Regions from separate parts of the Homo sapiens genome. Here regions 1, 2, 3 and 4 are each linked to region 5. The links are contacts of gene promoters, found by promoter capture Hi-C in blood cells and fetal thymus (Javierre and others, 2016). All regions are on one chromosome and are shown on one strand. Each heading gives the region's core, a stretch centred on a gene start or on the middle of the fragment in contact. The rest is flanking DNA. Distances are from core to core; before and after follow the strand shown. Region 1 holds the start of ZNF543 (zinc finger protein 543). Region 2 overlaps ZNF329 (zinc finger protein 329). Region 3 holds the start of ZNF17 (zinc finger protein 17). Region 4 holds the start of ZNF544 (zinc finger protein 544). Region 5 holds the start of ZNF671 (zinc finger protein 671).

Evidence for each region. Contacts are between HindIII fragments. The CHiCAGO score rates a contact against its expected background, and 5 or more counts as called.
Region 1: a contact is called between the fragment with the promoter of ZNF543 here and the fragment with the promoter of ZNF671 in region 5, in 8 of 17 cell types (activated CD4 T cells, naive CD8 T cells, total CD8 T cells and 5 more). The highest score is 10.1, in activated CD4 T cells.
Region 2: a fragment that was not itself captured here is called in contact with the fragment with the promoter of ZNF671 in region 5 in 2 of 17 cell types (naive CD8 T cells and naive CD4 T cells); the score reaches 5.4 in naive CD8 T cells.
Region 3: a contact is called between the fragment with the promoter of ZNF17 here and the fragment with the promoter of ZNF671 in region 5, in 15 of 17 cell types (naive CD4 T cells, total CD4 T cells, monocytes and 12 more). The highest score is 16.5, in naive CD4 T cells.
Region 4: the fragment with the promoter of ZNF544 here is called in contact with the fragment with the promoter of ZNF671 in region 5 in 3 of 17 cell types (non-activated CD4 T cells, activated CD4 T cells and total CD4 T cells); the score reaches 5.8 in non-activated CD4 T cells.

The regions. Positions count from the first base shown.
Region 1 is chr19:57,318,077-57,322,962 of GRCh38, reverse strand. It overlaps ZNF543 (zinc finger protein 543), which reads right to left and starts at 2,491. Exons shown (of 4, transcript NM_213598.4): 1 at 2,092-2,491. The coding sequence starts at 2,109. RefSeq lists enhancers at 2,393-2,542, 2,553-2,672, 3,598-4,115. The HindIII fragment of the contact is 3,609 bases long and covers 1,504-4,886 here.
Region 2 is chr19:58,127,476-58,131,952 of GRCh38, reverse strand. It overlaps ZNF329 (zinc finger protein 329), which reads left to right. Exons shown (of 4, transcript NM_024620.4): 4 at 2,442-4,477. The coding sequence starts at 2,450. The coding sequence ends at 4,075. Among named protein-coding and RNA genes, the nearest start is that of ZNF329, 21 kb to the left of the region's middle. The HindIII fragment of the contact is 846 bases long and covers 2,405-3,250 here.
Region 3 is chr19:57,409,339-57,414,138 of GRCh38, reverse strand. It overlaps ZNF17 (zinc finger protein 17), which reads right to left and starts at 2,978. Exons shown (of 4, transcript NM_001330617.2): 1 at 2,733-2,978; 2 at 503-543. The coding sequence starts at 523. RefSeq lists a silencer at 2,279-2,481 and enhancers at 2,725-2,784, 2,865-2,974. The HindIII fragment of the contact is 5,033 bases long and covers 1,804-4,800 here.
Region 4 is chr19:58,225,352-58,230,256 of GRCh38, reverse strand. ZNF544 (zinc finger protein 544) reads right to left here and starts at 1,343. Exons shown (of 7, transcript NM_014480.4): 1 at 1,311-1,343; 2 at 687-789. It also overlaps the pseudogene LOC100419847. RefSeq lists an enhancer at 641-1,467. The HindIII fragment of the contact is 1,767 bases long and covers 679-2,445 here.
Region 5 is chr19:57,725,739-57,730,787 of GRCh38, reverse strand. ZNF671 (zinc finger protein 671) reads left to right here and starts at 3,164. Exons shown (of 4, transcript NM_024833.3): 1 at 3,164-3,397. The coding sequence starts at 3,260. RefSeq lists enhancers at 2,818-2,867, 3,008-3,447, 2,965-3,465 and a silencer at 2,786-3,011. The HindIII fragment of the contact is 7,103 bases long and covers 2,421-5,049 here.

The DNA of each region.
Region 1 (4,886 bases), core at 1,242-3,741, 410 kb after region 5:
GGTAAAGTGACTAAAAGTCCCCAGCTCAGGAGTCAGACTCCTGAGGTTTAAAACCAAATTCCTGAAATCAACACAAGCCTGCTATGTGACCTTGGAAATCTCATTTCATTTATCTGAGCCCTGATGTCCAGGTCAACACAACAGGGTTTTCCACTTCACCAAGAATAGTCAAAAGATCTGAAGAAAAGCTGTAAAGGAAACACTGGGGCAAAGGGCCACAGCTCCTGAGTTCACCATCATCATCTCCATGTCACACTCAGAGACTTGAGGTCCAGGACCTCCACTAGTCTACCCAAAGTCACATCTCTTATCAGGAGAGACAGAATTTGAACCCAGGGCCCTATGGTCTATGTTCTAATCATGCAACCCGACACTCCTTCATTAGCAAAGTTAATGCACAGTTAATGAGGATGGGAAACATTGAAATACATCCATTTGAGCCACCCTGAAAATATTTTCAGGATTTTTTTTTTTTTTTTTGAGACAGGGTCTCAATATTTTGCCCAGGTTGGGCTTGAACTCATGATCCTCCTGCCTTAGCCTCCCAAGCTGGATATACAGACACATGCCACTGTGCTGGGGTTAGCCACTTGAAATATTTTCATGGACCTGGGCAGAGCAGCATAGTCATAATCACCTACCTCACAGAAGAGTCACCTGAGGTGGTGGCACCTGCCTCAAAAGTGGCAGGGCCTGGACCTGCATCTGCTGCCTCGGACACTTCTGGGCCTCACAGATGCCCATTCTCATAGGAAGAATCCACAACGAGCTATCACTACCTTTTCCTGTTTGAGTCCTACCAACAAGTATCCCTGAGGTCAGGATACTTCAGGAGCAAGGAACAAGAGTCACAGAGGACACAGCAGGTTGTAGCCATGAGAACATGGGCCCCTGACTGGCTATGTCTGTCCTGGCTAAGGAGGAAGGCACATCTAGCAAAAGACCACAAAATCTTGTGTCCCAAGACATGTGTCAGCTGGTATAGGAGAAAACCACTCAGGAAACCACTGTGGAAGCCACACGGGTCCCCTGCGGACTCCTTAAACAACCAATAAACCATTTTTTTTTAGTCCACACAGTTCCACCAGCATGAAATGCCATGACTCCTCATGTCCAAGACCACCTGCTAGAAGGAAGCCTGCTCAACTTGCAAAGTTTACTTTAGGTGTCACCCCCAGGCCTCCCTAACCATTGCGGGCAAAGAAGAGGGTAAAAACACAGGCTGTGATGGTAGACACACCAGTTGTTAGTTTCTGATACTTAAGAGCTACAGTGATGTAAGGCAGGTAATTGAACCTATGTGAGCCTCCAGCTGCTCTTGTGTAAAACAGTGAGGACAAGAGAACCTAATTCTAAGGAGTTCAGGATTAAAGGAGCTGAGGGTTAAATAATGCCTGCCAATCAGCCCACAGCAAGGACTCTTTATGATCAGCTGTCACTCTTTGCAATTATTTCGTTTCTCTTTGTTCACATAACATCCTAGACCAACTCAAACGGCAAGCTTCTTTAATATCGTCAGATTCTCTATACAAAAATGCCACACATTGCCAAAAATGGGCAAGTGCGTAAGGCGCCACTTTAGCCGGAATTGCCAAGAAAGCCACCTCCAAATAGGTGACATCTGGACAGAGGCCAGAAAGATATGAGAGGGAGGCCCTGCGAAGTTATAGGGGCAGTGTTCAAGGCAAAGGGAAGTGCAAAGAGAAAGCCTGGAAAAAGGAAGAAGACTGCACGGTCAGGTTGGTGGCTCTGAAGAGCAAAGGACAAGGGAAAAATGGAGAGACAAGGTCAGGGGTGGTTGGCCAGGTGGATGGGGTAGGGGCTGGCAGGCAACAGAGGAGGTTGGATTTAAGGGAAGTGTGATGAGATCCATGAAGGAAGCATCATTCATCCTTCTACCAAGGACTGAGCACCTGTCGGAGGCCAACACTATTGCAGGACTGCGGATAAAGGAAATGACAAGCTACGGCCACTTCTCTTAAATAAACGACGGCGACAAAGAAACATCCTGTGGCTGTCTTGGCTTCTGCCTGCCCACGAGGCCTCCAGAAGTAGCAGAGCAGCAGCAAGGCCAAAACCTCGTCCACTCACCTGCGCCGAGGCTGCCATCCTGAGACCCTGCAGCCCTAGCGGGGCCCGGGAATGCCGCGGCTCAGCCGACCCCCAGCCCTTCTCTGTCCTGGGCGGGGCGACCTCGGCTGACTTTCGCACTCGGAGCCTCAGTTTCCCCAGAGAAAAATGCGCACAAAGCGGGCGCAGCGTCGGGGCTGAGGAGACGGAGGGCGGCTGCGGAGGCCTAGGCCTCGGCAGGCGCCGGTGGAACACCCCGTTAGGGAAGAAGCGGGGCGTCAGGCTCCCGCCAAGATGCGGAGAAGGCGCGTAACAGCCTCATTACCCTCCCCTGCTCAGGCCGCTGGACGCGCCTACCCAGCGGTCCAGGCCCCACACTGTTCCAGGGCCAATCCTGCTCACGGAGATGACGTCACGCGACGAAGCGGAAGTCCCACCTCCGCCGCCCTGGCCCGCAGAAATCGCCCGTGTCCTGGCCCGTCATTGGCCTAGAGTCCGCGGCCGACGCAAGGGGTGGTGCCTTCTGAGTAAGGCAGTTTTTCCCTCACATCTACCGGGTGTGGGAACTCACCAAGCGCAGCCGACTCCATTTAAGTGCGCACAAGGACCCCCGCGTCGTCTTAGGGCCGCCGCTTTACTATGGGCACAAGTCGGAGGGTCGAAAGGTCCTTTCTAGCTTAGGAAAATTGAGGTCAGGAGGCGGGGATATTCGCCCCGATTGAGATCATGGGCTGGGCCCAGAGCTTCTGGCTCACTTCCCTTATTTTAGGGAGGTAGCTCATATATGTAATCTCAGTGCTTTGGGATGCCAACACAAAATAATTGCTGAGGTCAGGAGTTTGAGACCACCCTGGGCAATATAGTAAGATGTTATATCTACCAAAAAAAAAAAAAAGAGCAAGGCATGATGGTGTACACCTGTAGTCCTAGACACTGGGAGGCTGAAGCAAGAGGATTGCTTGAGCCCAGGAATTTGAGGTTATAATGAGATATGATGAGAGAAAACACACACACATAAACACACTGAGATGCCATCTTATACTGGTCAGAGTGGCTATTATTAAAAAGTAAAAAACCAACAGATGTTGGTATGGATGCAAGGAAAAGGGAACGCTTATATGCTATTGGTGGGAATGTAAATTAGTACAACCTCTATGGAAAACAGTATGGAGATTTATCAAAGAACTGAAAATAGAACTGCCATTTGATCTGGCAATTCCACTATTGGGTATTTACTTAAAGGAAAATAAACCACTATATCAAAAAGATGCCTGTACTTACATGCTTACTGTAGCACTATTCACAGTAGCAAAGTCATAGAATCAACCTAAGTGTCCATCGACAGATGATTGGATAAAGAAAATGCGATATATATATGTATATATATGTATGTATATGTATATATGTATATATATGTATGTATATGTATATATGTATGTATATGTATATATATGTATATATGTATGTATATGTATATATATGTATATATGTATGTATATGTATATATATGTGTATATATGTATGTATATGTATATATATGTATATATATGTATGTATATGTATATATATGTATGTATATGTATATATATGTATATATATGTATGTATATGTATATATATGTATATATATGTATGTATATGTATATATGTATATATGTATGTATATGTATATATATGTATATATATGTATGTATATGTATATATGTGTATATATATATACACTCCATGGAATACTACTCAGTCATTAAAAAAAATCATGGCTTTTGCAGCAATATGGCTGGAACTGGGGGGCCATTCTCTTAAGTGAAATAATTCAGAAACAAAGTCAAATACTGCATGTTATCACTTATAAGTGGTAGCTAAATGATGTATACATATGGAAATAGTGGAATAATAGACACTGGAGATTCAAAAAGGTGGGAGGCATTGCCGGGGACCCCTCACACCATGGTGCTTCACTCACCTACACCACAGCCATGCCACCCCATTGGCACACACTTGCAGGTAGCCCCCCTCTACTGCCCAAGTGGTGCACACTTGCCTGTGGCCTCCCCATCCCCCAGCCACAGTGCACTCTCTGCAGTCCCCACAATGCTCTGCTGGAGCACTTTTGCCAGCAGACTGAGAACACCTCAGCCCCTCTAGCACAGCAGGTGCTTCACCCCAAGCAGCCAGAGAACAAAGCCAAGGGCTTAATCCCCTCTACCCAGGTTTACAGCATGCAGCTCAGGAGTGCTCAGCTGAGCCTTGGCCTGTGAAAGCACCCATAATTGAAACCATGAAACTAAACCCAACTTATACCACAGTAAAACTCCCAAGGGCATCAAATAATATAAAAGCAGAAAGCCCCATCCAAAGGAGAGCAACTTCAAAGATTCAAGGAACATCAGCCCACACATATGAGAAAGAACCAGTGCAAGATTTCTGGCAACTCTAAAGGTCTCCAAACGACTGCACTAGCTCCCTAGTGATGGTTTGGAACCATGCTTAAATGGCTGAAATGACTTAGAATTCAGAGTCTGGATGGCAAGGAAGGAAAAATCCAAGGAAACCAATAATGCAATCCAAGAGTTTAAATATAATATTACCATATTAACAAAGAACCAAAATGGGCTGGGCACGGTGGCTCACGTCTGTAATCCCAGCACTTTGGGAGGCTGATGCGGGTGGATCACTTGAGGTCAGGAGTTCGAAACCAGCCTGACCAACATGGTGAAACCCTATCTCTACTATAAATACAGAAATTAGCTGGGTGTGCTGGCAGGCACCTGTAATCCCAGCTACTCGGGAGGCTGAGGCACAAGAGTCCCTTGGATC
Region 2 (4,477 bases), core at 1,578-4,077, 400 kb before region 5:
CTCCCGGGTTCATGCCATTCTCCTGCCTCAGCCTCCCAAGTAGCTGGGACTACAGGCGCCCGCCACCACGCCTGGCTAATTTTTTGTATTTTTAATAGAGACGGGGTTTCACCGTGTCAGCCAGGATGGTCTCGATCTCCTGACCTTGTGGTCCACCTGCCTCAGCCTCCCAAAGTGCTGGGATTACAGGCGTGACCCACTGCTCCCAGCCAATGTTTTCAGGACATTTCTATTTTCCCTTCACGAAGTGCTCTTTGATTACTTTGCCCATTTTTTTTCTTTTTATGTGCTGTTCTGTAAGAATCCTCTGTAGTTCTTGGGCAGTAATTCTTTGTGCTTTTAAATCTTATTTTCTCTCTGTAAGAATCCTCTATAGCTCTTGGGCAATAATTCTTTGTGCTTTTAAGTCCTATTTTCTCCCTATCTGCCACTTGCATTTTGTCTCTTATTGTGTCTTTTATTGGATGGAAAATTTGAATGCTGATATCAGACTTCTTAATCCTTGTCTGTTTTTTATTTTTTGGTTTTTGTTTTTTGTTTTTAAGACATGGTCTCTTTTGCCCAATCTGGAATGCAGTGGCACAATTACAGCTCACTGCAGCCTCAGCCTTCTGTGTGGGCTCAAGTGATAACTCCCACTTCAGCCTCCCAGAGTGCTGGGATTACAGGCATGACCCCCAATGCTTGGCCATATGGTTTTTTGGTTAAGTTTTGTTGATCAAAGTCTGCCACACTTATGAAGGCATACTACATTATTTAAACTTTGACTTTATGTTGCAGCCTGTATCCTTCTGAAATGTAAATACACGCGCACACACACACACACACACACATATACACATATACATGTATATATATTTAAATTGCCTAGAATGTAGACATATATGTATGTATGTATTCTGAGGCAAGGGTCTATTTTCATTTTACCTTAAAAAATAGAAAGAAGGCTGGGCACAATGGCTCATCCCTGTATTTGCAGCATTTTGGGAGGCTGAGGTGGGATAATTGCTTGAAGTTTTTGAGATTGAGGCTTCAGTGAACCAAGATCACACCACTGCACTTCAGCCTGAATGACAGAGCGAGACCCGATCCCACCAAATGAATGAACGAATGAATGGACAACCAGTTGTCTTAATATTGTGAAGTCTGAATGGACAAGGATGGTGACAGGAAGATTGATATGCATGAAGACACATGCAACCATTTACAGAATGCCCTTCATCCCCTAGCCTTGGAGACTGCTTTGTACATGATCCAGTTTTTTTTTTTTTTTTTTTTTGAGACGGAGTCTTGCTCTGTGGCCCAGGCTGGAGTGCAGTGGCACGATCTTGGCTCACTGCAAGCTCCGCCTCCCGGGTTCGCGCCATTCTCCTGCCTCAGCCTCCCGAGTAGCTGGGACTACAGGCGCCCGCCACCACGCCTGGCTAATTGTTTGTATTTTTTTAGTAGAGACGGGGTTTCACCACGTTAGCCAGGATGGTCTCAATCTCCTGACCTTGTGATCTGCCCACCTCGGCCTCCCAAAGTGCTGGGATTACAGGCGTGACCACCGCGCCTGGCCGACATGATCCAGTTTTTATAACAACCATGCAGGGCAGTCTTTGACAGTTTTTGTTTTGTTTTGTTTTTTGAGATGGAGTCTCACTCTGCCGCGTAGGCTGGAGTGCAGTGGTGTGATCTCAGCTCACTGCAACCTCTGCCTACCAGGTTGAAGTGATTCTCCTGCCTCAGCCTCCAGAGTAGCTGGGACTACAGGCATGTGCCACCACGCCTGGCTGATTTTTTTTGTATTTTTAGTAGAGACGGTGTTTCACCATGTTGGTCAGGCTGGTCTTGAACTCCTGACTTCAAATGATCCACCTGCCTCCACTTCCCAAAGTGCTGGGATTACAGGAGTGAACCACTGTGCCCCGCCAGGTCATTGACAGTTCTAAGACTTAGACCCAGAACTTTTAGGTCACCAAGCCTGTGCTTTGTCCTATCCATGAATGCAGAACTTTGATGACAGAGCTGGGGTGAGAACTGTTCCTTCAGTGCTGTTGTAAGCTCATTGTGAAGTCAGAGCTTTGGAAATGTGTACTGATGGGCAGTGTGTGACAGGGACAAGAATGCAGTGGCTGGGATGGAATTCTAGGGGGAGCAGGGATGCTTGGCCTCTGGTCTCTCACATCTCAAACTAATCCTTTTGGTGATGATTTATCCCGAGGTCCATTCCTCCTGCCTGCTCTCTAGGAAGATGAAAATGCTACATGGCTCTTTTTGAATCTGTTCTTGGTTCCATTCCTTGGCTACGATTTTACCTCTTCCTTGTATAAATTTGAATTTAAAAGAGAAAACAAGTAAAAAAATACACATCTTTACACCTAGCCCATCATCATTGTCTGTTTCTCTTACAGATAAAGCTTCATATACCTAAGTCTGCATTTTTCTTCTTTTTGCAGTTTGGGATATGAGATTGAAAATGACGACTCGGAATTTTCCTGAGAGAGAAGTACCCTGTGATGTAGAAGTGGAAAGATTCACAAGGGAAGTTCCCTGCTTGTCCAGTTTAGGTGATGGTTGGGACTGTGAGAACCAGGAGGGACACTTGAGGCAATCAGCTTTAACTCTGGAGAAACCAGGGACTCAGGAAGCAATTTGTGAATATCCTGGTTTTGGGGAGCATTTGATTGCAAGCTCAGACCTTCCACCGTCTCAGAGAGTTCTGGCAACAAATGGTTTCCATGCACCTGACTCAAATGTTAGTGGTCTGGATTGTGACCCCGCCTTACCCAGCTATCCTAAAAGTTATGCAGATAAGAGAACTGGTGACAGTGATGCCTGTGGAAAAGGCTTCAACCATTCCATGGAAGTTATTCATGGAAGAAATCCAGTGAGAGAGAAGCCCTACAAATACCCTGAAAGTGTTAAGTCTTTTAATCATTTTACCTCTCTTGGTCATCAGAAAATAATGAAAAGAGGCAAGAAATCGTATGAAGGTAAGAATTTTGAGAACATCTTTACTCTGAGCTCATCGCTTAATGAAAACCAGAGAAATCTCCCTGGAGAGAAACAATATAGATGTACTGAATGTGGCAAATGCTTCAAACGGAACTCTTCTCTTGTTTTGCATCACCGAACTCACACCGGAGAGAAGCCTTATACTTGTAATGAGTGTGGAAAGTCCTTCTCCAAGAACTACAACCTGATTGTGCATCAAAGAATCCACACAGGAGAGAAGCCCTATGAATGCAGTAAATGTGGGAAAGCTTTCAGTGATGGCTCAGCTCTGACACAGCACCAGAGAATTCACACAGGCGAGAAACCTTATGAATGCCTAGAGTGTGGAAAAACCTTCAACCGAAATTCATCCTTAATTTTGCACCAAAGAACTCATACAGGGGAAAAACCATATAGATGTAACGAATGTGGGAAACCCTTCACTGACATCTCCCACCTTACAGTGCATCTCAGAATCCACACCGGTGAGAAGCCCTATGAGTGTAGCAAATGTGGAAAGGCTTTCCGGGACGGCTCGTACCTCACCCAGCATGAGAGGACTCACACTGGAGAAAAGCCCTTTGAGTGTGCAGAGTGCGGGAAATCCTTCAACAGAAACTCTCACCTCATTGTGCATCAAAAGATCCATTCTGGGGAGAAACCCTATGAATGTAAAGAATGTGGCAAGACTTTCATCGAGAGTGCGTACCTCATCAGGCATCAGAGGATTCATACTGGCGAGAAGCCCTATGGCTGCAACCAGTGTCAGAAACTTTTCAGGAATATCGCTGGCCTCATTAGGCACCAGAGGACTCATACTGGTGAGAAGCCCTATGAGTGTAATCAGTGTGGCAAAGCCTTCAGGGACAGCTCCTGTCTGACCAAGCACCAGAGAATTCACACTAAGGAGACCCCATATCAGTGTCCAGAATGTGGGAAGTCCTTCAAGCAGAACTCTCACCTGGCAGTACATCAGAGACTCCATAGCAGGGAGGGTCCCAGCCGGTGTCCTCAGTGTGGAAAAATGTTCCAAAAGAGCTCATCCCTTGTTCGACATCAAAGAGCACACCTGGGAGAGCAACCCATGGAAACATAATGGTTGGGGGCCACATGAGTCTTCCAGTTCACTCTCACTCCTGTGTTTAGGAGGCGTGTCTTAGATCTGACTCCTCTCTGGTCAGTAGAAAAGAATCCTTTAAGCTATCCAGTGAATTGATGAATGTGAGACATTGCTGAGCCACACTGTTAAGTCTGCTCATTGGGGAACTCCAGAGACAACTTAGGATGAGGGCAGAAAAGTCTTTGGGGATGATTCAGTCTGTACCAGACATGACAACACACACACTGGAATGAAATGTGCAAACATGGGGGTGACACCACAGAGAGAACCTGTGAATGCATTCAGAACATGATTGGAATGAAGAGCCCTGTAGTAGGGAGTTTCCACCTTGTACGTAAGCAAACACTGAATCAACTTTTTTTTTTTTTTCGGACAGAG
Region 3 (4,800 bases), core at 1,729-4,228, 320 kb after region 5:
TCGCTTGAACCAGGAAGGCGGAGGTTGTAGTGAGCTGAGATCGCGCCACTGCACTCCAGCCTGGAGACAGAGCAAGATTCTGTCTCAAAAACAAAACAAAACAAAAACAAAAACCTAGACAACCTCAGGCTGCCATTCCATGCCTGATCCCTGCATGCCCCGACCTCCTGCCCTGCTGCTGTGCTCCTTATCCTTGCCAGCTAGAACATTAAGCTACAGTTCTCTAAGCATCCCATCTAAGTCTCACCACCAAGCATTTGAACATTCTAGATCCTGTGTTTGAGATGCCTTGCCAAATCTCAAACCATCAGTTGTGAGAACTAGAACCACTCTATATAACCAGGCACTGAGTTTGGAACCCAGGTCTGGTGGAACTACAGGCTCTCCTTGGACCCAAGGGAGAGAGAAGAAAAGGTGAACAGTCTCAGGATAACACCATTCCCTATATCAGCATGCTGAAACCATCTGGGATGGGTGAAAGCTGGAAACACTCTCCACTCACCTGTCCAGCATCCATAAGCATTGCTGCCACTGCTATGAACCCTGTGGGAAGAGGCAGGCCATGAGGATTAAGACAGCATTGCAGCATCCTACAGGCTGACTGTACAACCACCTCTGGCCCTGCAACTAGAGCAAAGTTATCTGAGGGTACACAGTAAGTCCTCAGGGTTCAGTGTCTTGATGAGGACTGAACTTCCTTAAGTCTCGGTGCCCTTATGTGTAAAATAGAGATTAAAAGGATTGCCAACTAATAGGGCTTATATGGGCATCAAATATAAGTAGTACACACTATGTATCAGCAATTTCTTTCTACTGGATTAAATATTTTTTACATGTTTTCGGTACAAATGACATGGAAGGGTTTTGAAATTTTGGGTGTGTATTTTTCCCACTTCTTACGGTGTTAAGGAAATGTGATACATAAAACTTTCCATTGCAAGCAAATAGAAAAATTAACATTCAGCCGGGCATGGTGGCTCAAGCCTCTAATCCCAGCACTTTGGGAGGCCGAGGTGGGCGGATCACGAGGTGCAGAGATCAAGACCATCCTGGCCAACCATGGTGAAACCCTGTCTCTATCAAAAATACAAAAATTAGATGGGCATGGTGGCGCATGTCTGTAATCCCAGCTACTCGGGAGGCTGAGGTAGGAGAATCGCTTGAACCCGGGAGGCAGAGGTTGCAGTGAGCCGAGACCACGCCACTGCACTCCAGCCTGGCGACAGAGCGAGACTCCGTCTCAAAAAAAAAAAGAAAAAAGAAAAATCAACATTCAACAATTATTAAGTGAATAAATTTAACTATTGGTTACATTCATTTCTAACTGCCGACCTATGTGTACATATTTAGAAGGATACTGGTTCATTAGTGGTTAAATAAATGTTTTATACATTCGGCCGGGCGCGGTGGCTCATGCCTGTAATCCCAGCACTTTGGGAGGCTGAGGCGTGCAGATCATGAGGTCAGGAGATAGAGACCATACTAGCTAACACGGTGAAACCCCGTCTCTACTAAAAATGCAAAAAATTAGCCTGGCGTGGTGGCGGGCACTTGTAGTCCCAGCTACTCGGGAGGCTGAGGCAGGAGAATTGCTTGAACTCGGGAGGCGGAGCTTGCAGTGAGCCGAGATCGCGCCACTGCACTCCAACCTGGGCGATGGAGCGAGACTCTGTCTCAAAAAAAAAAAAAATGTTTTACACATTCATAAATAAATAAGTTGCAGGGAGGGGATAAGCAAGCAGGTCAGTTACTGGTCCCATCAGCAACCAGGCCTGCCTGCTACAAATTCAGTTGCTGGAAGCTTGCTGGAGGCCCTTGACTAGATGTGAGAAAGCCCTACCCCCGTCTGGACCCAATGTCCCCACTAGTCTGGATGACCTTCCTATTGTTCCACAGAGTGGGCCTGGGGGGCTGCTGGGTCTGCAGGTGCAGAAATCTAAACCACCTCACACCTCAGTCTCCAGCCTAGGCCAGTTCCTTAACCCATTCAGAACTCCGTTTTTGCAGATATGAGCCAGAATCCCTCCTATGACAGGTCTGCGCCTTTCTAAAGGTAGCGTCAGGCTTATGGACCCACCCATGATCTGCCCTCCAAAACTCAGCCCTCCAAAATGCAACTCATAATCCTCTCTGAAACCTGCTCCCTAAGCTGACTTCTCCAACTCCATTCTTTCAGATTTTCAGGCCAAAACAAAATCCATGGAATAGACCCTTCACTACCCTCACTGCTACATTTGATGCAGCAGGAAATCCTGTCGACTCTATCTCTGAGATCCATCCAGAATCTCATCACACTTCCCCTCTACTGCAACCCCTCTGGCCCATCCCTACCATAACTCAAGGGGTCTCCTCAGCGGTCCCCTTGTCCTGGTTTAACATCCTGTTTTTCCCAACTTTAAACGTCTACCTCTGGGCATAACCCTTCCTGCACAGCCTTCTACGGCTTTCAGCAGCTCCGCTGCCCTCCCAGGCGAGACTCCGCCTCACCCTCAGCTCCGTGGAGACAAAGACGCTCGGGCTCCCCAGTGCCGCCCGCTCTGCAGCACCTCTAAGCCTCGCACGTGCAGGTCCCTGACAGGAGCTCCCCCGCCTCACAGCACCGCGGACACCGGTACCCCACACAAGAACGCTCCTCTCTTTGGGACACAGGGGCCTGACCTGCAGGGCCCCTCCTCGGGGCTTCGGCACTCGGAGGAGGGATCGGGCGGGGCGCCCTGGGACGCGGCACCCACCTCAGTCAGGTTCATCGGCGCAGCCTCCGCCAGCACAGCCAGGGAAGAGCGGGGCGGGAGCGGCAGTGACCTGGACGCTGACAGAGGCACCAACGCCTGCAACCGATTCAACCGAGCCTCACTCTAGCCTCTGTACAACGGGGAAACCTTTTCTCGCGTTTTTCCGCTTTTTCACCTCAGTCTCGACTCAGCCTGAAGGTGAACAGATCCCAACGCAGCCATATTGACAACCCCAGGAGGCGTTGCAGGAAGTCCCGCCCACACGCATTGCGAACCCCCGTAGACGCCGCTCTGCTAGGCCTTCATTGGCTACACTCGCTGCTTGTGTCCGCCGCTGTGTCTTTTGGGTAATGTAGTTCCCAGGCCACTGCCTGCCCCGCTTCTGAACTTAAGTTAACTCGCGTTCAGGATGAAAGCCAGGAGGATCCTCCTGAGGCTTTGAGAAATGCAGTTGCGGGGCTCCAAGGACGTGGAGGGGCTTCATTGGCTTTTAAACGGCAAGCATCCAGATTTTCCCGGAAGGCAGTCTAGAACAAGTCAGAGAAATGTTTCAGAGACCTGTCCTTTCAGATTCTGTAAAGCACAGCAAGTTCCCAAAAGACGAACATCCGAAGGAACATGGCCAACCATAAAGAACTGGTCTTCCACGCATAGCGGTCAGCTCTTTTGTGCTTGCCAAATACACACAGAACGAAGCTCTGGAGACTGTTTTATGATCTTCAATGTGCTCTGCTGGGCACATTGAAAAGACCCAGACATGGCATGATGGGGAGTTTGAGGAGTAATATCTTTCCTTTCTGAATAATCAGTTATTGTCTTTCAGCCTACCCAGCAACACTTTATTCACATGATACTTATTACTTTATATCTGAGATATTTTCCACTTATTTTAAGAGACTGAAACCTAACTGAAAAGGAAAAGCGACTTATCTACCATTATCTGCCAGAATAGTGTGGCCTTCCACCAGTCAAAGCCCTTGTGCAAAGAAAGCATCTTACTCCTGAGATAAAGGTTTGGGAATGCATGATCTCATCTCATTAGTGGAAAGTGATTTATCATTTCGCCTGAAATTGTATCAACAGTGTCTGCACAGGGAGTTGAAATTGTCTCTGAATAACTCTTGTGAAATGGCTATTACTGAAACTATTAATGACGATTATGTAGATATCCAAAGAAAGTGGCAAAAATAGTTATAGAGAAACATATTTGTGATAGGAGGAAAAAAGCTAAGGTTGTCCTGGAACCTTGGACACACTCAAGTTTGGTGTCCAAAATCTGATTCTTTTTCAAACTTGAAAACATTGTGCATTAACAGCTTGAAGGGAGAGGTAAAGACTATATATTAAAAGAGTTACCAGAAAAGTAAAGCTGAATAGGGAAACTGTGCTGTCGTATTTATTACTCTAACATATTTGATGAACACTCATTCGATGCCAGGTACAATACTAAGTGCATGGGACACATTAGGAGTAGGGTTGCTAGCTGTCTGTGGTCCTCTAAGACACGTAAGACGTATTTAATGAATTAGTCCTCAGTCCTGTATTGACCTTGTCAGGTCACTTTAAATGTCCTGTATTCCGCTTTTTACAATAAATTACAAAACCTCAGAAGTTAGAGCTATTTTTCTACCACTATAATTGTAAATTAAATCACTTAGCAGCTATGTTAGCTGAAAATCATACCCCCACAAATAAAGATATGGACATAGTCTTGTGATCTCTCCTGCAGAATTGGTGAGGGAAAAATAAAATGGAGCACTGAGATATTCAGTAAAGGAGAAGACTGTTTTTTGGCCAAAGTCTTGAAATTTGGTTTATCAAATTACAAAAAGAAGGAAGGAAGGAGAGAGAAAGAAGGAAACGAAAGGAAAAGAAAAAACCACCCAACTGAAGGTCTGGAAGAGTTAAAGCTGTTCAGTAGTGCCAGCTACATGGAAGTTAAGACGGGAGGATTACTTGAGTTCATAAGTTCAAAACCAGTTTGGGCAATATAGTGAGATCCCCGTCTCTGAAAAAACTGAAAATTAAAAACATGTTAATCATTTACCAACAATACATCCCTACCATC
Region 4 (4,905 bases), core at 94-2,593, 500 kb before region 5:
TCCCCATCTGTTCCTCATACTGGACCTGTATGGTGGCTGATCTGGCAGAAGTCCCTCTGGCTGCAGGGCTGGGGAGGGAGTTGCTTTCTCTTTCCTTTTCCAGTTTTCTCCTTCCCTGCTTGTGGGGTGACGTTTCCAATCTGCTCCAGGTTACGTGTCCAGCCCAAACCTCCTGGGCTTCCTGCCACTGCCATTCCCTCCTCCACATTCAGCCATGTCACCCACATGCTCCTCAACTCCCATGCAGAGACTGACCAGGCATACCACATCTTCCTTGCACTGTGACTTCTACCCTGGCTCCACGCTGGAAACAGAAACACAGTCTTCCTCCACTCCTTCCTGTCTTTTGGCATCCCTCCTTACACGGAGTCATTTCCACAATCAGATGTTTCCCTACTCCCTTAGACTCTTGAAATCCAACCCCATGCCTTCCTCATTAGCACTGCCTTGTACGGTCCCCATCAAATATCACCCAACACAAATGGAACCCCGATCCCTAACTTACAGGCGTTACATACACATCCCATCCTGTTCACCTCTGTAGTCTCTCTATGGGGTGCACCAGCATCGCTTAACCAGTGCAGGCCCCCAACACCCCAGTTACCCCTGCCCTGCGTGGACTGGCCTTAATCTTCTGTTCACTTGGAAAATACACATGTTCTCTGCAAGGTTCAAGCTTCACGTACCATTGGAAGAAAATGTGTCCACGTCTGGAGCTGGGATGACCTCTGGGGTCCAATAGGCGTCACCTGCCTGGTGCCGCTGTGCCAGGAGGCTCTTGGCTGCCACCTGTGGATAAGCCGCAGAAGATGAGTTGAGGGAGGAAAAAGGAGCCGGGAGAGGCCCGCTGGGTCGGCAGCCCCAGAGCTCCAGACGCCAGCCTGAATCCCCCGCCCCTGCAGCCCTCGACCCAGGCACCCTCTGTCGGGAGGGCCCACCCAGTCCCACCCAGTCCCACCCAGTCCCACCCAGTCCCACCCAGTTCCACCCCTGCCCGTACCTGCGAGGTACTATAAGTTCCCTCCCAGCTCTGCAGCAGGAGAGCCTCCCGACAAGCTCAGACCCAGCCGGGCGCTCCTGCAGGGGAAACCTGACTGGACCGGCCTTCCCCGTCCCTGAGGCCGGAGAGATCCCGATCCCATCAGGCCCCTGCCCTTGCTCGGCCTCGCCGCATGAGGGACCCCCGCAGGCCCTGCTCGTTTCTCCGGCACGCCCAGATCACTTGGGGCGGCTCTGGCCTGGTCCTGCGCTCCGGCCGCACCCGGCTAACAGTGAAACCTCCGAGCCAACCTTGAGGCCGCCAGACTCACCTGCACGCACCGGCCAATGGCGGTGCTTCCGGTGGCCGGCGGACGTGCCCGCGCTCCGCGCAACAAACAACTCCCAGAAGGCCGCGCGCCGGTAGCCGTTGCTCCCACAGGCATAGTCATTGCCGGCGGGAGCATGGGGCCCCGCGGCGGCGGGATGAGCTTTTTCCTGTGTTCGCGACTAGCATTGTGGCTTAGGGAGTTGCTTCCCGCGGCTCTGCTCCTTGCAGCGCCTGTCCCCTCCCCCTTAAACGGGCCACGCTGGTTCTCATCCAGCAACCGAAGCCGAGACTGTGGAGGCGGCGGTCGGCGTCCAGGGCGGGACTAGCGCCTATGGGGCTCGGCGCTGTCATCTCGGGTGCCTTCCCGGCGCCTTGCCCTGCTGGGGAGAGAGACCAAGACTGAGCCATGAGAACAGTCCAAGGCCGTTAACCGGGAGCTCAGGGGCAAGGGCGCCCGCCAACATCTGCGCCTGTGGCAGGGACTCAGGGACAGCCTGGGCGTGGGGACGCGTCCTAGTGATAGAAACAAAGCCCCGGGAGTGCCCTGCTTGGAGCATTCCGAGTGGAAGGTGGAAGCACGCTAACTGGAGGCGATTCGTCCTAGGTGATCGCTCAGTCGAGCCTATTTGGCTTTCTGTGGTAGCTCCTAAGTGGGACAGGGAAAAAAATAGGGAGGCTGGCAGTGACCAAGTTCTGTTTTGTACCTATTGCTGCAGAAGTTGTGGGACAGAGTTCTGTTATTATAAATGGTCTGATGTTCAGTCTCAGTGCGTTGTGGGGCTCAATGTCTGAGACCCACCACCGCCTGACCCGTCCTGGCTCTTCAATGAGGGAGACCACAGGAAACTTTCCTACGAAGGCCAGGTAGGCGGGAACCACTGTGGCTCAGGCACCCTCAGCTCCTGGACTGTGCTTTTGTGTCTGGGGTGCATCTGTGACTAGCCTTCCTTGGCTTGACTGTTTTGTAGCTGACCTTGTCGATAGCTTTACCCAACAGTCATCATCTTTTTACTTGCTTATTTTCATACCTGGCTAGCACGACCCTGCAATTTTTAGATTCTTCCGGGAAATCTAGAATCTAACTCCCTAAGGGAGGATCTTGATGGATTCTAAGCTAATCAGAATGGACTCAAGCTTCTTGCTGTGTGAATTAGGCAAGGATATTCTGGCCAAGGAGAAATAAGGCTGCTAGGGGTTTCCTGGGAAGGTTCCCTCAGTCTTTTTTTTTTTTTTTTTTTTTTTTTTTTTTTGTGAGACGGAGTCTCGCTCTGTCCACCAGGCTGGAGTGCAGTGGTACGATCTAGGCCCACGGCACTCTCCGCCTTCCGGGTTCACGCCTTTCTCCTGCCTCAGCCTCCCGAGTAGCTGGGACTACAGGCGCCCGCCACCACGCCCGGCTAATTTTTTGTAATTTTTCTTTTTTAGTAGAGACGGTGTTTCTCCCTGTTAGCCAGGATGGTCTCGATCTCCTGACCTCATGATCCACCCGCCTCGGCCTCCCAAAGTGCTGGCATTACAGGCATGAGCCACCGCTCCCGGCCGGTTCCCTCAGTCTTAAAAGTGGACATAAGATAGCAATGTGTCTTCTTTTGCCCCTGGACCGTGATGTCTGTATGTGATGTGTAGGACAATTACAAGCACACTGGCACCATGAGGAAGCCACCCCAGGAGGTAAAGGCAACATGCTGAGAATGGCACAGCAGAAAAATGGAAAGAACCAGTATCCATGATGGAATGAATCCTCTTTGTGCCACTGAATCAACATTGCCTATGCTCACCTCAGGGACTTTTCATTATGAGATAATAAATGATCTTGTTTGTTTTTATTATAGAAAATTTCAGGCCAGGAGTGGTGGCTCACGCCTGTAATCCCAGCACTTTGGGAGGCTGAGGCAGGCCGATCACGAAGTCAGGAGATCGAGACCATCCTGGTTAACATGGTGAAACCCCGTCTCTACAAAAAATACAAAAAATTAGCCGGGCGTGGTGGCGGGAGCCTGTAGTCCCAGCTCCTTGGGAGGCTGAGGCAGGAGAATGGCCCTGAACCCAGGAGGCGGAGCTTGCAGTGAGCCAAGATCACGCCACTGCACTCTAGCCTGGGCAACAGAGGGAGACTCCGTCTCAAAAAAAAAAAAAGTTCAAGTAAATAAGAACTTTGATGTTACATTTCTGTTTACTGTTTCCATGTCTGTATCAATAATGGAGTCGTCTGAGGAACAACTTTCCCTACATCAGTGTTTATATTATTCAGTTTTAGGCTTAGTGCTTAAGCTTAGTGATCGCCTTTTGTAGGATTGTGTCATAAGAGCAAAGAATGACCATATATTGTTACATTAAAAATGTTACCTTTGGCTGGGCACAGTGGCTTATGCCTGTAATTCCAGCACTTTGGGAGGCTGAGACAGGTGAATCACCTGAGGTCATGAGTGCAAGGTCAGCCTGGCCAACATGGCGAAACCCTGTCTCTACTAAAAATACAAAAACTAGCCAGGTGTGGTGGTGGGCACCTGTAATCCCAGCTACTCAGGAGGCTGAGACAGGAGAATGGCTTGAGCCCAGGAGGTGGAGGTTGCAGTGAGCCGAGATGGTGCCACTGCACTCCTCCAGCCTGCCTCTGACTCAAAAAAAAAAAAAAAAAAAGTTACTTTTACCTTGATGTCTAAATAAAAGGGAAGAAAATCTTTTAAAAGTTATGGCTGGGCACAATGCCTCACACCTGTAACCCCAGAACTTTGGGAGGCTGAGGTTGGAAGATCACTTGAGACCAAGAGGTTGAGGCTGCAGGGAGTGATGATCTTGCCACTATACTCCAGCCTGGATGACAGAGTGAAACCCTGTCTCAATTTAAAAAGTTCATTGGCCAGGTGCGGTCGCTCACGCCTGTAATCCCAGCACTTTGGGAGGCCAAGGCAGGTGGATCACGAGGTCAGAAGATCGAGACCATCCTGGCTAACATGGTGAAACCCCGTCGCCACTAAAAAATACAAAAAATTAGGCCGGGCACGGTGGCTCACGCCTGTAATCCTAGCACTTTGGGAGGCCGAGGCGGGCGGATCACTTGAGGTCAGGAGTTCAAAACCAGCTTGGCCATCATGGTGAAACCCCGTCTCTACTAAAAATACAAAAAAATTAGCTGGGCATGGTGGTGTGTGTCTGTAATCCCTGCTACTCGGGAGGCTGAGGCAGGAGAATAGCTTGAACCCGGGAGGTGGAGGTTGCAGTGAGCTGAGATTGTGTCACCACACTCCAGCCTGGGCAACAGGGAGACTCCATCTCAAAAAAAAAATACAAAAAATTAGCCGGGCATGGTGGCGGGCACCTGTAGTCCCAGCTACTTGGGAGGCTGAGGCAGGAGAATGACGTGAACCCAGGAGGCGGAGCTTGCAGTGAGCCGAGATCACGCCACTGCACTCCAGCCTGGGCAACAGAGCGAGACTCCATCTCAAAAATAAAATAAAATAAATAAAAAGTTCATTAACAGTTTGACTCAAGAATGAGTTATCTGGTGCCTGACATGATTAGAATGCTGCCTGAAAGGCCTTTCTGCACTGATTATATGCATACAGTTTCTCTCTATTATGAATGATCTGGTGTTC
Region 5 (5,049 bases), core at 1,915-4,414:
TGGTAAGCTATTAATTATTGCCTCAATTTCAGAGCCTGGTCTATTCAGAGATTCAACTTCTTCCTGGTTTAGTCTTGGGAGAGTGTATGTGTCGAGGAATTTGTCCATTTCTTCTAGATTTTCTAGTTTATTTGCGTAGAGGTGTTTATAGTATTCTCTGATGGTAGTTTGTATTTCTGTGGGATGGGTGCTGTTATCCCCTTTGTCTTTTTTTATTGCATCTATTTGATTCTTCTCTCTTTTCTTCTTTATTAGTCGTGCTAGTGGTCTATCAATTTTGTTGATCTTTTCAAAAAACCAGCTCCTGGATTCATTGATTTTTTGAAGGGTTTTTTGTGTCTCTATTTCCTTCAGTTCTGCTCTGATCTTAGTTATTTCTTGCCTTCTGCTAGCTTTTGAATGTGTTTGCTCTTGCTTCTCTAGTTCTTTTAATTGGATGTTAGGGTGTCAATTTTAGATCTTTCCTGCTTTCTCTGGTGGGCATTTAGTGCTATAAATTTCCCTCTACACACTGCTTTGGACGTGTCCCAGGATTGTGGTATGTTGTGTCTTTGTTATCGTTGGTTTCAAAGAACATCTTTATTTCTGCCTTCATTTCGTTATGTACCTAGTAGTCATTCAGGAGCAGGTTGTTCAGTTTCCATGTAGTTAAGTGGTTTTGAATGAGTTTCTTAATCCTGAGTTCTAGTTTGATTGCACTGTGGTCTGAGAGACAGTTTGTTATAATTTCTGTTCTTTTACATTTGCGGAGGAGTGCTTTACTTCCAACTATGTGGTCAATTTTGGAATAGGTGTAGTGTGGTGCTGAAAAAAAATGTATATTCTGTTGATTTGGGGTGGAGAGTTCTGTAGATGTCTATTAGGTCCGCTTGGTGCAGAGCTGAGTTCAATTCCTCGATATCCTTGTTAACTTTCTGTCTTGTTGATCCGTCTAATGTTGACAGTGGGGTGTTAAAGTCTCCCATTATTATTGTGTGGGAGTTTAAGTCTCTTTGTAGGTCACTAAGGACTCGCTTTATGAATCTGGGTGCTCCCGTATTGGGTGCATATATATTTAGGATAGTTAGTTCTTCTTGTTGAATTGATCCCTTTACCATTATGTAATGGCCTTCTTTGTCTCTTTTGATCTTTGTTGGTTTAAAGTCTGTTTTATCCGAGAGTAGTATTGCAACCCCTGCCTTTTTTTGTTTTCCATTTGCTTGGTAGATCTTCCTCCATCCCTTTATTTTGAGCCTATGTGTGTCTCTGCATGTGAGATGGGTTTCCTGAATACAGCACACAGATGGGTCTTGACTGTTTATCCAATTTGCCAGTCTGTGCCTTTTAATTGGAGCATTGAGCCCATTTACATTTAAGGTTAGTATTGTTATGTGTGAATTTGATCCTGTCATTATGATGTTAGCTGGTTATTTTGCTCATTAGTTGATGCAGTTTCTTCCTAGCCTTGATGGTCTTTACAATTTGGCATGTTTTTGCAGTGGCTGGTACCAGTTGTTCCTTTCCATGTTTAGTGCTTCCTTCAGGAGCTCTTTTAGGGCAGGCCTGGTGGTGACAAAATCTCTCAGCATTTGCTTGTCTGTAAAGTATTTTATTTCTCCTTCACTTATGAAGCTTAGTTTGGCTGGATATGAAATTCCGGGTTGAAAATTCTTTTCTTTAAGACTGTTGCCTTCTTTAGAATATTTATTTAGGGTATTGTGACAAAGTCAAAAGGTGATGCAGGACAAAAATCATTATATGCAGGACATGTCCTGTATGTATAGGAATCTTGGAAATTTTATTAGTGATGTCTTTCATGCTACTAACACATTTGAAAAACACCTACTGAGAGCTCGTATGTGTTCCTTGGATGTGTATTTTAACAGTGAATTATCAAGACAGCACAACTTCACTGTTGATTTTTACCATTCTGATATCTTCTTTACAATTGCTCAGCATTTTCAGGAAAAAAGAGTCACATTTTGTTGACAAAGTGTGGTCAAGATCACAACACAACCATATGCTTAACTTCATTCTTTCACTTATACTTTAGTATTCAGGCTCAAACTTTACTGAGATCTTAACTTTGTCCATCTATCACAGATATTTCCTTAGAGCAATTTCTTTCATTATCTTCAAATAACTACGGAATCATTATTAATAGCTGTCAGGATTTTTCCCCCGGGGATAATCTCACCTCCTAACACAGACACCATACTTACAATGACAATGACAGGTTAAATGGTAATTGCACTGTGTTTTGCTGTGATGGAGACATCACTGATTACCCAGGCAGGAAGAGTTTTCTGAAGAAATCTGTCCACTGGTTTCAGGGAGACTCCACATCATCCCTCTTCCTTCTTCCACTCCAAGGCCTTGTTTGGAATATTTTCTCTTCCGTCTCTGACCAAACTGAAGCTCACAAAAGTTACTGTAAAGCTTGAGTGCACACATATTTAAAAAGCAACAAGGTAATAGTTATTAGCTTCTAGCTGTGAGTGTACGCAAAGAGACATTGTGGTGTGGTGTATCTATTTAGTTTTGCAGCTTTGGGGAACATCTGAAATGTCTCAACATTTCTGCGATCGGTGCATACTACACTCCAGGGAATCTAGGTCCAGGCCTTTTAAGAGGACAGAAGTCAGCCGGGCACCATGGCTCACTCCTGTAATCCCAGCACTTTGGGAGGCCGAAGCAGGCAAATCACAAAGTCAGGAGTTCGAGACCAGCCTGGCCAACATGGTGAAATCCCGTACTCTGCTAAAAGTACTAAAATTAGCCTGGCGTGGTGGCGGGCCCCTGTAGTCCCAATTACTTGGGAGGCTGAGGCAGGAGAATCGCTTGAACCCGGGAGGCGGAGGTTGCAGTCAGCCGAGATCGCGCCACTGCACTGCAGCCTGGGAGACAGAGCGAGACTCTGTCTCAAAAAAAAAAAAAAAAAAAAAAAAGAGGACGGAAGTCCTGTCAGCCCTTTGAAACTCGGGTTACTTTTCCCAAACAACTTGGCCCTCCTACTTCGAGTTTTCCCAAGAGCCCAGGCCGAGAATCCCCTGCCTTGAAGGATAGCTCAGTGGGAACCACACTCTACCCACAAACCTATACGTTGCATACCCAATGAGGGCCCAGGAGAGGGGTGTTTCAGTGCCTGCGGGGGGTGCGTGGGCGGGACTTCCGGCTCCTCCTTGTAGCGGACATTTTGTTTCTGTCAGGCTGTCCCTGGCCGGGGTTCTGTAACGCTTGTGTGGGCCGCAGGTGGAGGTGTTGGGAAAGCGCGGAGGAGATGTTGTCCCCAGTGTCCCGAGACGCGTCTGATGCTCTGCAGGGACGGAAGTGCCTGCGTCCCCGATCGAGACGCCTGCCGCTCCCGGCAGCTGTCCGCGCCCACGGTCCTATGGCGGAGCTAACGGACTCCGCGCGGGTGGGTGCTGCGTCCTCCGGGCCCTCAGTCACCCTTTCTCCGACTCCGAATCGTAAAGTGCCTGCAGCCCCTGTGTCCCAGGACAGCGACGCACTCTTGGGGCGGGGTCCTATCTCGGTGTGGGTGGGTGTGGGAGAGTTACGGGCGGAGGGGACGGCGCAGGTAAAGGCTCGGGGGTGCTGCTGACCCCCAAACATTTGGGAGACAGGGTTCTCATCAACACAGAGCAGAGTTTGAGGAACTGTGACTGGAATGGCAGGCTGAGAAGTTGTCGCTTCATTCTGAGGGCGTTGAGATTAACTGAGGGTTTTGAATAGAAGGACGTGATCTTAGCTGGGATTTTAAGTGTCTCGAAATTTGCTCAGGGGAGAACATTAGTTTGGGGTGGGGACTGCGAGGATGGATACGAGGAGACCGGTAAGGAGGCTACTGCAGTGGATTCCAGGAATGCTTTGGTGGTGGATGTACCAAGAGTAATGGCAGGTGAGTGGGTAGAAGTGATCATATTCTGGGTAGGTTTTAAATTTGAAACCAACAGGATTTTCTGCTCCATCATATGCAGCTATGACTGAAAGTAAGGCATGAAAGAGCAAGGTGTTTTTGTTGTTTTTCCATGAACGTTTGGATTTTGGAATGGTGACTTTGAGATGTCTCAGAGTGGAGGCTTCCTCACTTAGGCAACTAGAGAGGAAGGTCTGAAGTTGTGGGGAAGGGGCTGGGCTTAGAATATCTTTGGGGTGAAGGGAGCGGTCTGGAGTAGGTCAAGGCCAGGAGGTCAGATTTAAGTGGGGCAGTCTTAAGTATGTTATTTCATATCTCTGGGGTAAGAGATGAGAAGGCTGGGACTGCAGGGCAGGGAAGAGGGAGTGGGCATTCTTGAGACTCCCCCCAGAAGAGAAGGGTCCTGCCATTTGAAAGGGTTCTTTTCAGTGTTTGCAGGAGGAGAGAGCTGTAGGGTATGAGGAGTTTGGCCTGGGATGGCAACGATGGGTGGTGTGCTATTGCTACTATCTGATTATCTCACCCTCATTTTGTGTGTTTTCTTTTAGTTTTAGTTTATTTATTTTTTTTATTTTTTTTGAGACGAAGTCTCACTCTGTCGCCCAGGGTGGGATGCAGTGGCTTATTGCAACCTCTACCTCCCGGGTTCAAGAGATTCTCCCGCCTCAGCCTCCCAAGTAGTTGAGATTACAGGTGCCCACAACCACCCCTGGCTAATTTTAGTATTTATAGTAGAGACGGGGGTGGGGAGGTGGGAGGGGTGGGGTGGGGTGGGGAGGTGGGAGGGGTGGGGTGGGGGCGGGGGAGTGGGGGGGACGTTCACCGTGTTGGCCCAGGTGGTCTTGAACTCCCGACCTCAACTGATCCACCGGCCCCAGCCTTCCAAAGTGTTTGGATTACAGTTGTGAGCCACTGCACTTGGCTTTGGTTTTATTTTATTTATTTATTTTTTTTTTGGAGACGAGTCTCGCTCTGTCACCCAGGCTGGAGTGCAATGGTGCGATCTTGGCTCACTGCAGCTTCTGCCTCCCAGATTCAAGTGATTCTCCTGCCTCAGTTTTCCCAGTAGCTGGGATTACAGGCATGCATCACCATGCCCAGCTAATTTTTGTATTTTATTAGATAGAGTTTCACCATGTTGGCCAGGCTGG